4 separate regions of the Homo sapiens genome follow, and regions 1, 2 and 4 are each linked to region 3. The links are contacts of gene promoters, found by promoter capture Hi-C in blood cells and fetal thymus (Javierre and others, 2016). All regions are on one chromosome and are shown on one strand. The core of a region is centred on a gene start or on the middle of the fragment in contact, and the rest is flanking DNA. Distances in the headings are between cores, read along the strand shown. Region 1 has its middle 75 kb from the start of LINC02040. Region 2 has its middle 34 kb from the start of LINC02040. Region 3 holds the start of ADAMTS9 (ADAM metallopeptidase with thrombospondin type 1 motif 9). Region 4 has its middle 55 kb from the start of LINC02040.

Evidence for each region. Contacts are between HindIII fragments. The CHiCAGO score rates a contact against its expected background, and 5 or more counts as called.
Region 1: a contact is called between a fragment that was not itself captured here and the fragment with the promoter of ADAMTS9 in region 3, in 1 of 17 cell types (endothelial precursors). The highest score is 13.4, in endothelial precursors.
Region 2: a fragment that was not itself captured here is called in contact with the fragment with the promoter of ADAMTS9 in region 3 in 1 of 17 cell types (endothelial precursors); the score reaches 6.9 in endothelial precursors.
Region 4: a fragment that was not itself captured here is called in contact with the fragment with the promoter of ADAMTS9 in region 3 in 1 of 17 cell types (endothelial precursors); the score reaches 7.3 in endothelial precursors.

What each region holds. Positions count from the first base shown.
Region 1 is chr3:65,248,300-65,250,999 of GRCh38, reverse strand. No RefSeq gene overlaps it. Among named protein-coding and RNA genes, the nearest start is that of LINC02040, 75 kb to the right of the region's middle. The HindIII fragment of the contact is 958 bases long and covers 954-1,911 here.
Region 2 is chr3:65,207,570-65,210,269 of GRCh38, reverse strand. No RefSeq gene overlaps it. Among named protein-coding and RNA genes, the nearest start is that of LINC02040, 34 kb to the right of the region's middle. The HindIII fragment of the contact is 810 bases long and covers 871-1,680 here.
Region 3 is chr3:64,686,688-64,689,566 of GRCh38, reverse strand. It overlaps ADAMTS9 (ADAM metallopeptidase with thrombospondin type 1 motif 9), which reads left to right and starts at 1,567. Exons shown (of 40, transcript NM_182920.2): 1 at 1,567-2,024; 2 at 2,599-2,879. The coding sequence starts at 1,910. All of the region lies in intron 1 of ADAMTS9-AS2 (ADAMTS9 antisense RNA 2), which reads right to left. The HindIII fragment of the contact is 3,589 bases long and covers 1-2,550 here.
Region 4 is chr3:65,228,522-65,231,221 of GRCh38, reverse strand. No RefSeq gene overlaps it. Among named protein-coding and RNA genes, the nearest start is that of LINC02040, 55 kb to the right of the region's middle. The HindIII fragment of the contact is 582 bases long and covers 1,074-1,655 here.

The sequences.
Region 1 (2,700 bases), core at 183-2,682, 560 kb before region 3:
GGCTAGGTGAAGTGTGATTTACTTCCTAGGAAGTGATGCAAAGATTTCTCAGTCACAAAGTTTTCCATGATGAAAATGACCCATAGTCATCCAGTGAAAAGGTGACAGTCTGAAAGTCTACCCAGTGAATGTCCCAAAGGCTTTGAATGCTGTGCCCATGGGTGACCAGAGCATATTCCCTGGGAAGTGACACAGAGGTTCAGAGCATTGCCTCTGGGGTGAGACAGTCCTGGGTCTCAAGTTTCGTCCTCTTTCCTAGCTCCTTGATCTGAAGTAGCTGTCTTAACCTCTTTAGACTCAGTTTCCCATTGGCAATATACATTAGGGTCATTGTGCAGCTTGTAAGAGATATTTAACGTAAAAGTGATTGGTAGAGTCCCTAGATGGCAGAAAATGCCTAATAAATTCTAGCTATTCTTTCTCCTGAAATTTTAGTCTGTAACACAGCAGCTATGGTGGCAGAAACTGAGATGCACTTTGTGGATGACAGAAAGGTGAATAAAAGTGCATGCATGGGACTTTGGAAGAAGGTAGTCTCAAATGCCTTTTTAAGAGAGATTATATTGTCACTTCTCTGACAGTGTGGAAGATAAAACTGAGGGTGCAGCACTCTTCTTGGGAGGAAGAGCCCTGCTTTGACCTTGACATCTGTTGGTGCATTTAGCAAAACTTATTTTAAACAACTCCTAAGAATTTTATTCAATGTAAAACTTCTATATGTATCTGGATGGAAATACTGATCTACCCTTGATTCATTTTATCCATCACCTATCTTACCTTATCCCACCTCACACTATATCTTATCTTATCTTATCTTATCTTATCCATCTAGTCTTGTCTTGTCTTTCTGTCTGTCTGTCTGTCTATCTGTTTCATACATCATCCATCCATCTGGTTATGTCCATAGGATGTAAATGATAAAGAACTTTCTGCCCTCAAGTTGCTCCTAAGCTTGGAGGGAGACATTCCAATAGACAAAACAAGAGGACCAAAGTATTCATGGGATGCTTTAATGCAGCACAGAGGGTATCCACTGCAGATTGGCAGTGGACCGAGAAGGCTTCCGAAGGGTTAGTAAGAAGAATCCAGGTAAAATGTATAGACAAGAGGTGGAGAAGGATGCTGGTAAGGACATTGGTAGTAGAATCCCCAGTCAATGCAAAGGCCTGGGGGCAGGCAGGTGAAAGACACCTTAGGAACACACTGAGTAGTTAATCATGGATAAAGCAAGGGCAATGCATCCTAAATGCTACTGAGCATAGAAGGCACCGAGAGAGCTTGTTAAAATGCAGATACACACACAAAATATATTTGAAAAAAATACAGACACCATGACCCACCACAGAGATTCTGAACCAGTGGATCTGGGATGAAGTCCAGAAAACCAGCATTTGACACAAAAGGCCCTAGATAATTCTCAGGCAGGTGGTTATCCTACAGTCCACTAAGAAACAATTGTGTGATGTTACAGAGACAGTTTTATATGTGGTATATCTGAAGCGAAAGCTGTGGTCCCTTGCTACTCAAAGTGTGGTCCTTGAAGGAGTAGACTTCGCATCCCCTGGGAGCTTGTTAGAAAGGTAGAATCCCAGGCCTCACTCCAGAACTTCTGAATCAGAATCTGCATTTTAAGAAGACTGCCAGGTGATTTGATGCACATTAAAGTTTGTAAAGCACTTTATCAGGCAGGGATAGCACCTTAAATTGTTTTATCAATAATAGTGAGATACTTTATATAATAGGTGATGGCAAGTCATTGAAAAGCTGTAGTTGAGGGAGTGGTGTGGTTCAGTTTGCTCTTTAAATTAAATATTTAAAAAAATTTTTTTGAGGAGTCTGTATTCTCCCTGCCTTTTCCCTTTTCTCTGTTCCAAGAAGGAGTCATGCCCTTGATATTTCCTTAACTAAGCTTTTTAAATTTTCATTTTTGTTCTCCGAGATTGAGAGCCAAATTTGCCTAAACAAAATACTGTTTCTGCCTCTCCAAAAAGCCTAAGTTTGTAGAAGAGATGAGACAAAGGGTCGAAGCATGTAGAGCAGAGGGAGGGTGTTCAAGGTCAAGGATTGAAAGTAAGGATGTGTTTGCAGGAACTGGAAGTGCCTAAAGATGGTGAAGCTCTGCCGGAACTGAGGTTAGCAGATCCATCTAAGGTTTTTTCCCTAGACTGGGGAGGAGTGATGCCTACCCAAGGCACCCAGAGATGGGGTCATAAACTCAGGACTCAGGACTAGCCCAAGATTCTCAAGTCACCAGCATGGCACAGCCGCCACGGAACCTCTCCTTGGAAACAGTGTGCCACAGATGCCCTATTGGGTAGACGAAGTGTCACCTCCCACTCTCTTGCTTGGGGTTGGGTAAGACCCTGGGATGTTGGTGCATCCCTGGGAGGGCAGCAACAGCAATAAGCACTGAGAGGTATTTGAGCCCATGGTCAGATGGGCACTGGGAATCAGACAATTTGATTTAAATAGAAAAAACCATTTCTTGCTCATCTGAGATTAGGAACTAGATTCATCTTCCAACATTTAGAAGGTTCACCTTGATGCTTTTGTGAATTTCAAGAAGGGTTAAAAAATTGTAGTGACGTAAACACAGTTGTCTTTGATGGCAGAGTCTGGGCTGTCTTCTCCTGTATTTCCTCTCCCTCTCAGCAATGCAGAAGCATAGAGAAGCAATCAGAGCTCCCTCACTCACTTTGG
Region 2 (2,700 bases), core at 26-2,525, 520 kb before region 3:
ATTAGGAAAGACCTGCTGCATAACAGATAATTATTGCTTTTCCAGAAAATGAGTATCTTTGGCTATACCTGGATTGGGAGAGGCAGTGCCAAACACCCTGGGTCTGGTACTGTGCTGGACATCATCAACAATTTCTCACTAATGTCTCATGAAAACAATGCTGTGAGTCAGATGTTATTATCTTCTGTTTATAGAAGCAGAATCTGGAGCCCTGAGAATTTAAGTAACTGAAATGTGGGTCCTTGTGTCCCAGATCTCGTGACAGTTGTAAGGGTCAAAACGGTAAATTTTAGATTGTGAAAGCACTTTTTAGCCCTTCTGGTTTAGCTAGGACCATTTTTCTTAATCAACATCCCATCTTTCTGCTTGCACCCAGTTTATGTTCTGTAGTTAACTCTTTTGTGTGTAGACTGATACCCTAATGTAAGTACATTCTATTGATTCAATGGTTTGCAAATTTTAGCAAAATAATGATTGCTTTCTAGTCTTCTCACTGATGCAAAGGAATGCATGGTGCCACATTTTTCTTCTCAGTAGTTAAAGCTTTAACTAGGATTTGTTTGTGTGTAAAGTTGTCTTGCAGCTCATGATACACTGAATGCTTTCATGGGAGCATTATAATAGAAGCTAATTAGATACCTGGTTGCTGGGTTAAAAAAATGCCAGTCTGGCTGCCAGGAGATCTTTGTTGCATTTCTATTTGTACCATGAACCATTGCATGACCTAGAGCAAGTCATTTCTCCATCTGGAAAAAGAGAGGGTTGTATTTGATACTACTAAGTTTCCATTGCCTCAGTACTAAGACTCTGTTGTGGCCTCATCAGATCCCTAGGGGTTGGGAGAAGAGCAACTTGACAGACCTGGAAGCTTGTTACTTGTCCCACCATCTCTGCAGCCACAGGACACACAAGCCAATTGCCTAGACACTTGCCTGTCTAACTTCTTCTTTCCCACCCAACTTGTCCATTTCCATTTGAAGCCTCATATATTGTTACTCTCTGAGTCCTTTGGTTTCTGAATTCATAAAGTCACTTTTTTGGCACCACTTTTCCCCCGAAACATTAATACAGTGGTCACACTTGCTGCCTTGTGTTGAGCCCCACTATATCCCTGTTATGTTCTGAATGCCTACTATATGCACTGCTAAAACCATTTTGCGTGGACAGTCTCATTTAACCCCCACAACATGCCCTTAAGGAGGGGTACCATTATAATCCCCATTGTAGAAATGAAGAAAATGAAGGCTGGAGAAGGTAAGAGGCAGAACTAACATTGGAACTTAGGATCTAACACCAGCACCTGTGCTGTTAGCCTTCAGGGCACCCCGCCCCCCCTGATAAGTGAAAGACCGGAAAGCGTCAGCACCGCTCACCTGGAGTGGGAGTTTTGAGGGTGAGGCTCTTCTTCCCAAACTGTGTGTCTACTTTGCTATGGGGGAGGAATTAAGTGAATATTAGAAAATCACAACAATGTCCAGTCTAAAGGTTTTGGGTAAAATTGCTAAAAATAATTTGTGTCCATACAGGAAGTTATCAGTAGTTCGTAACTAAGAGCTATTTAGGAAGGCAGGGGGCCAGAGCATAGAAAAGGTGACTTTGGTGTTTCCAAAGGCAGGTAGGAAAGATAGGACCTTCCCACTGAGTTGGAGGATCTGAGAATTAAGATCGACAGTTCAAGCTTTTGGCTATCATATCTCCTGTCACAATTACACCCAGCTGAATTATATATCCAAGCAAGTCCCTTCAAAATGGCTTCAAGGACTATTCCATCTTGGGAGTTCCCGGCGTTGTGGACCTCTGGCGTCATCCCTTTGGCCACAAGACCTGAGAGCTGCTCCAGCGAGCTCAGACCACCCCCCAGCCCGCCACCCAACATGAGATGCTTCTCATGGAAAATACTGAGTGAGGTAACAGAGGGGAGACACTTGTCCCTTCTTACCTTGCTTCCATTCTTTCAGTTGAAGGGATTTTAGGAAGAGGGAGGAGCATTACTCACAGAAAACTCCAAGCGTTAGACTTTGTGCTCAGGTTGTTCATAATTAGCTTGGGAATTAACATTAAGGAAGATTTATTACAATTTTGAAGATCAGGACCACTGATGTGCAATTGAAAAAGCATGAATTTTTCTATTGTTATTTTGGTGATGGAAAGAAGTTTTGTAGCAGAGCTCTCTGCTGACATATAATATTTCTCTGTACATCACATATCCTGGCTTAATATCTAGATGGCAGGTTATGTGTTGTGTTTGAGTGAACTTGGCACATACACAACTTGAATCAAGCTGAGCAAATTCTCATGTTGCCAAAACCAATCCCCTATTGGTGATTTACTCTCCACTTCTGCGTTGGTCCTCCACCTGGGAAACATGCACGTGAAGGAGATCTTCAGGCTACTTGCCAGTGCCTATTGTTCTCCAGGGACAATCTGACATTGTCTTTTATATGGAAAGGAAAATAGAGGTACTTATTTGAGAGTAAATAGCAAACATGCAAAATCTAGATTGTACCCCTCTATGTAGTGGAAAAAAGGCCCTAAAACATAATAAATAATAGTTCCTTCTATAGATACTTCTCAAAAAAAAGTGAAACTATTTTTTAGAATAAAGCACCTTGGGGTATAAACCTTTTAAGATTCTAATTTCAATAATATCTATGCAAATGATTTTATTTTTATTCCTTGTGCCAAATACAAATAATGATA
Region 3 (2,879 bases), core at 318-2,817:
TTTTTCCATCCTTACATTTTACATATCCATTATGAAATTCCAGTAATAAGACGATGGTAACATTATCAATTTGGGTTAACAATTATTTAGCAAATTCGTCTTGCCAAGTCATTTTTACCCTTCACCAGAAGAAATATATGTATTAGTATCTCAAGAATAGTTGACATTGCTAGCATATTGCGATTTGGTTCCTGGTGTTGGCAATCTTTGGTATTTCTAGTCCTGAGTGCTAACCTACCACGCAACAGAACCTCAACCCCCGTTCTAGGATACTTGGGCAAATATATATTTATTAGTCATATATTTATATATTTTTAACGATATTGTCATGTCTTTCCTCTTGAAATTATCTTGAAATTCTATCTTCCTGAGGGCTGGTTAAAGAAAAGGCGCCACTGAACCACCCAAGATTGAACAATTCACACACACACACACACACACACACACACACACACACACGAAGGTGTAGCTTGAAGCGCCTGCTTTCAGTCTTTCCCAGTCTTTCCAAGCATCTCTCAGGCTGAAAGCAAGCGGAAGTGATTGAGAAATCCCTCCAGGGACTGGTGCCTCCCACAGGGATCTACAACTTTACACTCCATCCCCCCTTCCCCTCCCATCTCTAAACCCCCTGGTAGTGAGGGGCGCCAGAGTCCCCGCCCCTTCTTGCTGCCAAAATTTGTTCTTAACCTTTTTTGGGGCAGGGGACCTACAGAATGCTATGGACCCTCCATGAATGGTGACAGAGGTTGGTGGAAAGCACAGCTTAAATATTTTGCGAAATTTTCAAGAGACCACGTATTAGAAACACACTCCGACCTGCAGGATTAAGAACCCCATTTCTAAAACTCTTGACTTGGGGTGATTAAATCGAGAGCGGAGCTCAGGTGCCAAATCTCTTCCCGAATGAAAAAGTGTAGGAAGGGAAGGCGCTCCGGCGCTGGGCCACTTTCACTTGTAAGAAACCAAAAGATGGGGACTGGTGGCAAGAGATGGGGACGGAAGAGAAAGGAAAGGAAAAGGAGAAATGTGAGAAACAGACAGGGACACGGTGGGGCGGGGAGAAGACAGACATCACAGGGGAAAATGGGGAGAAGGGACAGAGTCCGAGAGGCACAGCAGCAGAGAGACAAGGGGGAGGAGGAAAAAGAGACTCGGAAGGGAGGAGAGAGAGGAGAGGAGAGGAAAAAGACGAGAGGGGAAGTGGCTGCACGCGCGCCAGGAAAGGGAGAGAACTTTCCCTGCTTTCCCTCCCCGGGGCAGGGAATCTCAGAAAACCCCACTTCAGCGAGGTGGCGGGGACCAGGAACAGCTGCCCCGGCGCTGGTGACGCCTCTGGCCTCCGCCTCTTGCAGCCGGCAGGGCCTCCGGCTGCGAGTCCCGCACGGGCCGGCCGAGGAGGGGACATGGTCTGGAAGGAGGCGGTCCCCGTTCGTCTCGCTTTCTCCTCCCCTCTCCTCCTCTTAGAGGCGTGCACCGGGGGCATTTGAGAGGCTGTGGACCCGCGGCCCCCCCGCCTCCGCCCCCCCAGCCCCCCATTCAAGAAGCCGCTCAGCTATCCCGGCCAGCACAGGGCGCCCGGCGCGCCTCGGAGCGCAAGTTCCTCGCCTTCTCCTGCCCGCTCGCTGGGCATTATGCGGCCAAGCAGCCGAGCCCCAGTCCTCCTCCTCCTCCTGCTCCTCCGGCTCCTCCTGCGGCCCGAGCGGCTCAGCTCTCGGCAGGCGGCGGCGTTGCTCAGCCGAGCGCAGACGGGACCCTCGCAGCGAGACCTCAGCGACTCCTAAAGTCAAAAGTTGGCGGCGGGCGCCGGGCTCCGCGCGCTCTCCACGGCCGCTGCCTCGCGTCGCCGCCGCAGCCAAGGAGGGCAGGAGGGAGGGGGGTGGGGGCAGCGGAGGGAGGGGTGGGAAGCACCATGCAGTTTGTATCCTGGGCCACACTGCTAACGCTCCTGGTGCGGGACCTGGCCGAGATGGGGAGCCCAGACGCCGCGGCGGCCGTGCGCAAGGACAGGCTGCACCCGAGGCAAGGTAACCAGGCTCCGGCCCCCGGGACCCCGCCGGCCCCGACGCCGCCTCCCGGTCCTCGCTCCTGGGCAGGGGCACCCCGCAGCGGAGGCTTCTCTCCTTTTCCTAGAAAGAATTATCTCCCGCTTTGCAGCCTCTCCCTTCTTTGGGTCATCCCCAACCAATTGCTAGGGAGGGACACTATGGAAACGAATTTAGGCAACCCCCCCCTACCTTGCTGTTGCCAGATATATCCCCATCCCCACTCCCACGCCGCAAACTAAAGTAACTTAGTAATTGGGGGCACCAGATAGCGTCATGTTTTATTTTATTCAGGTTATTTATCAATATCTGAAATCATATATATTTTGACTTGTTAATTGTCTGGCTCGGAATAGTGTATCCTCAGCACCTAGCACAGGTCCTGTTACTGGCACATAGTAGGTGCTCAGCAAATATTTGTCCACTGATTAAGGGTGAAGGGATTGACTCGAATGGGCTGGAAAATAAGGTCAGAACAAAGTCCCCACCTTCGTTTTAAATTAAAGCTTAAGGAAAAATGAATTATTGGTTCATATACCTCTGCTTCTCTCCGCAGTGAAATTATTAGAGACCCTGAGCGAATACGAAATCGTGTCTCCCATCCGAGTGAACGCTCTCGGAGAACCCTTTCCCACGAACGTCCACTTCAAAAGAACGCGACGGAGCATTAACTCTGCCACTGACCCCTGGCCTGCCTTCGCCTCCTCCTCTTCCTCCTCTACCTCCTCCCAGGCGCATTACCGCCTCTCTGCCTTCGGCCAGCAGTTTCTATTTAATCTCACCGCCAATGCCGGATTTATCGCTCCACTGTTCACTGTCACCCTCCTCGGGACGCCC
Region 4 (2,700 bases), core at 115-2,614, 540 kb before region 3:
AAGACTTGGGTAACCCCTGGCAAGTTACTTGAAACCTCATCTGTAAAACAGGGATAATAATGGTCCTCACCTTGGAAGGTTGCTTCACCAATTAAATTAGTTAATAGACTAAAAGGACTTTGCATTTTGCCTAGCATGGAGCAAGGGTTCAACAAAAGCTGTGACTCATAACTTCCATGGTTATTATGAAGTAGGCAATAAGGCTAGAGAAGGGGATGGGGTGGTAAGGAGTTGCTAAAGCACTCCTGTCTCTCCCTGCTCATGAATGCCACTGTGCATGTGATTTATCTCCACAGCACGGGAGGCTGGGCTTCGTAGCAAGCGCATACTCAGTTTAGGGAGACAATGACCAACCATGAGAGAGGATGAATGAAGTGTTCTCTTTCTTAGCATCCTGCTTTTATTACTCCTGATGGCGTACAGCCTTTAAACTAAGCCCTTTCTCACCCTGTGTTCATTAATACTGTTTCCTACCTCCTCAAAGCTGCCCATGGAGCTCCCCGGCCCACTGGCTAGAACTGTGTTGCACTGCCATTGCTGATAGCATCTCATGACGCATGCAGGGCAAGTTTAAATGTTGACAGCAGTGACTGGTCGCTAGACACACCCCACAATTGCAGAGCTGATTTCTCTCTCTGCCCCTACAGTAACGTGATAGATTTTGTTCCCAGAGAGCTCTGCAGGCAAGATTTAAGTATGTTTTTCCCTGCTGTGAGCCTGGAATAAAGTCTTCACAGATAGCCAAAGCAGGCTCAGTGAATCACTCTGGCTTTCCGGTGCTCCTCGTTCCTCTGCACGGAGGACACACCCTGATTTAGTAAGTGTCACTCTCACCTTCCATTCATCACCAGCCTTAGACACACTGCCGGGTGGTGAAACTCAGTTGCGGATGTTCCTTTCAGCCCATTACATGAGCAGAGAGACTTTTCACAACGTAGCTTTTCAAATAGGAGATTGCCCTTCTTCAAGAGACAGGATTGCAATGTGCCAGGGTCACTGTGTGGCCTAACAAGCCAGTGATTCCTGGGTCCAATTCTGAAGCATCAGCTCTGGAAAAACTCCGTGTTAAAGCTTATGGCTTTTGACAGGATATAGAATTTTGTTTACAGAAGTTAAATATACTGGCTTAGGAGTGATCTGGTACAGGTTCGACTCTATGAATTACAGTCTTTGTAGCTTTGGACAAGTTGTTTAACCTCTCTGATCCTCAGTTTGTTCATCTGTAGAACAGCACTTAATTTAGGGGGTTGTTACGTGGTACAATGTACTTAGCTCAGTGCCTGGCACCTAGTGCTCGGTAAAAGTTAGTGGTTTTTAACGCTGTGGTTATTCCTGCTGTGTTAGTGTTATCATTGATGTTATTTGCAACCAGGCTAATGGTTAGCCCAATCCTGTCTTTTCTCTTAGCCTTCCTTTGTGGAGGAACTGAAGGGACAGTGTTTTAGAAAGTGTCATTTTGCTCCCTCTGGGCTGACTGTAAGTGAAAAAGTTAGGATGCTATGGTTTGAATTTGTCCCTTCCAAAATCCAGGTGTTGTCAATGTGATAGTTCTAAGAGGTGGGGCCTTTAAGGGGTGATTAGGTCATGAGGGCTGCTTCCTCGAGAATTTGATTAAGGCCCTTCTAAAAGAGACTTCATGCAGCGTTCAGCAAGCTTGCCCTTCTGCCATGTGAGGACAAAGCCGGAAGGCCCTCTCTAGATCAAATGCTGGCACCTTGATTTGGACTTCCATGCCTCCAGAACAGTAAGAAAACAATTTTCATTTCTTATAAATTACCCAATCTTAGATATTTTGTTGTAGAAGCACAAAACAGACTAAAACATGAAGCGACACATTATGATGTTAAGAAAAGAGACAGCACTGGACTTAGAGTCCCAAAATGTGATGTTAAGTTCATGCTTCTCCACAAACTACTTACTGGAGTTAGGTCAAGTCCCTTAAGCCCTTTTGAGCTTTCCTTTCCTCTCCTCTCACGCCTCCTTCAAATGGTTGCTGTGAGGATTAACAATGATTTCTCACTCTTACTAGTGCAATATCTACGATCTATTGAGTGCAGAGTATAGCTCAGACACTGTGAGCTATACAGCTATACATACAGACATCAACCTAATCATCTCAACAACCCCGTGACCCCAAAGCCCTTATATTTAACCTTCACTGTCTCATAAAATGAGATCATGTGTTTGAAGATAAAAATTCTCAAAATCTTTTTGGTGTCCTGCAATATTAAATCCAGATTCCTTTATGTGCCATTTAGGGGCCATTCAGGTCTCACCCAGACCACAGTTCCATCCAGGTCCTGTCTATAGCTGGGATCTGTGCTTCCTCTACTGCAGCCATAATTCACTTGCCATTTCCCAGAATTTGTATTTCTCAAAAAGACTTCTGAACCTTTGCATATCTGTTCCCTTTGCTGTAATGTCCTTCTGTCTGCTTGCTTACCTGGGAAAATTCTACTACTGTTCTTAGGCTCAGAATAGGTGACCTTTACTATGATTTGTGACTCTGACCTCTCAGGTATTACCTTGTCCTTTGTGTTTTCAGTGCACCCTGCATATGATTTTCACACAGCACATATCACACCCTGCGATGATTATCTATGAGAATCTGTGGTCATTTCTATTCAAAATGCTAAACAGGAATCAAATTGCCAGTACCAAATACAGTACCTGGCACACAGTGCGTGTTTGATACATGCT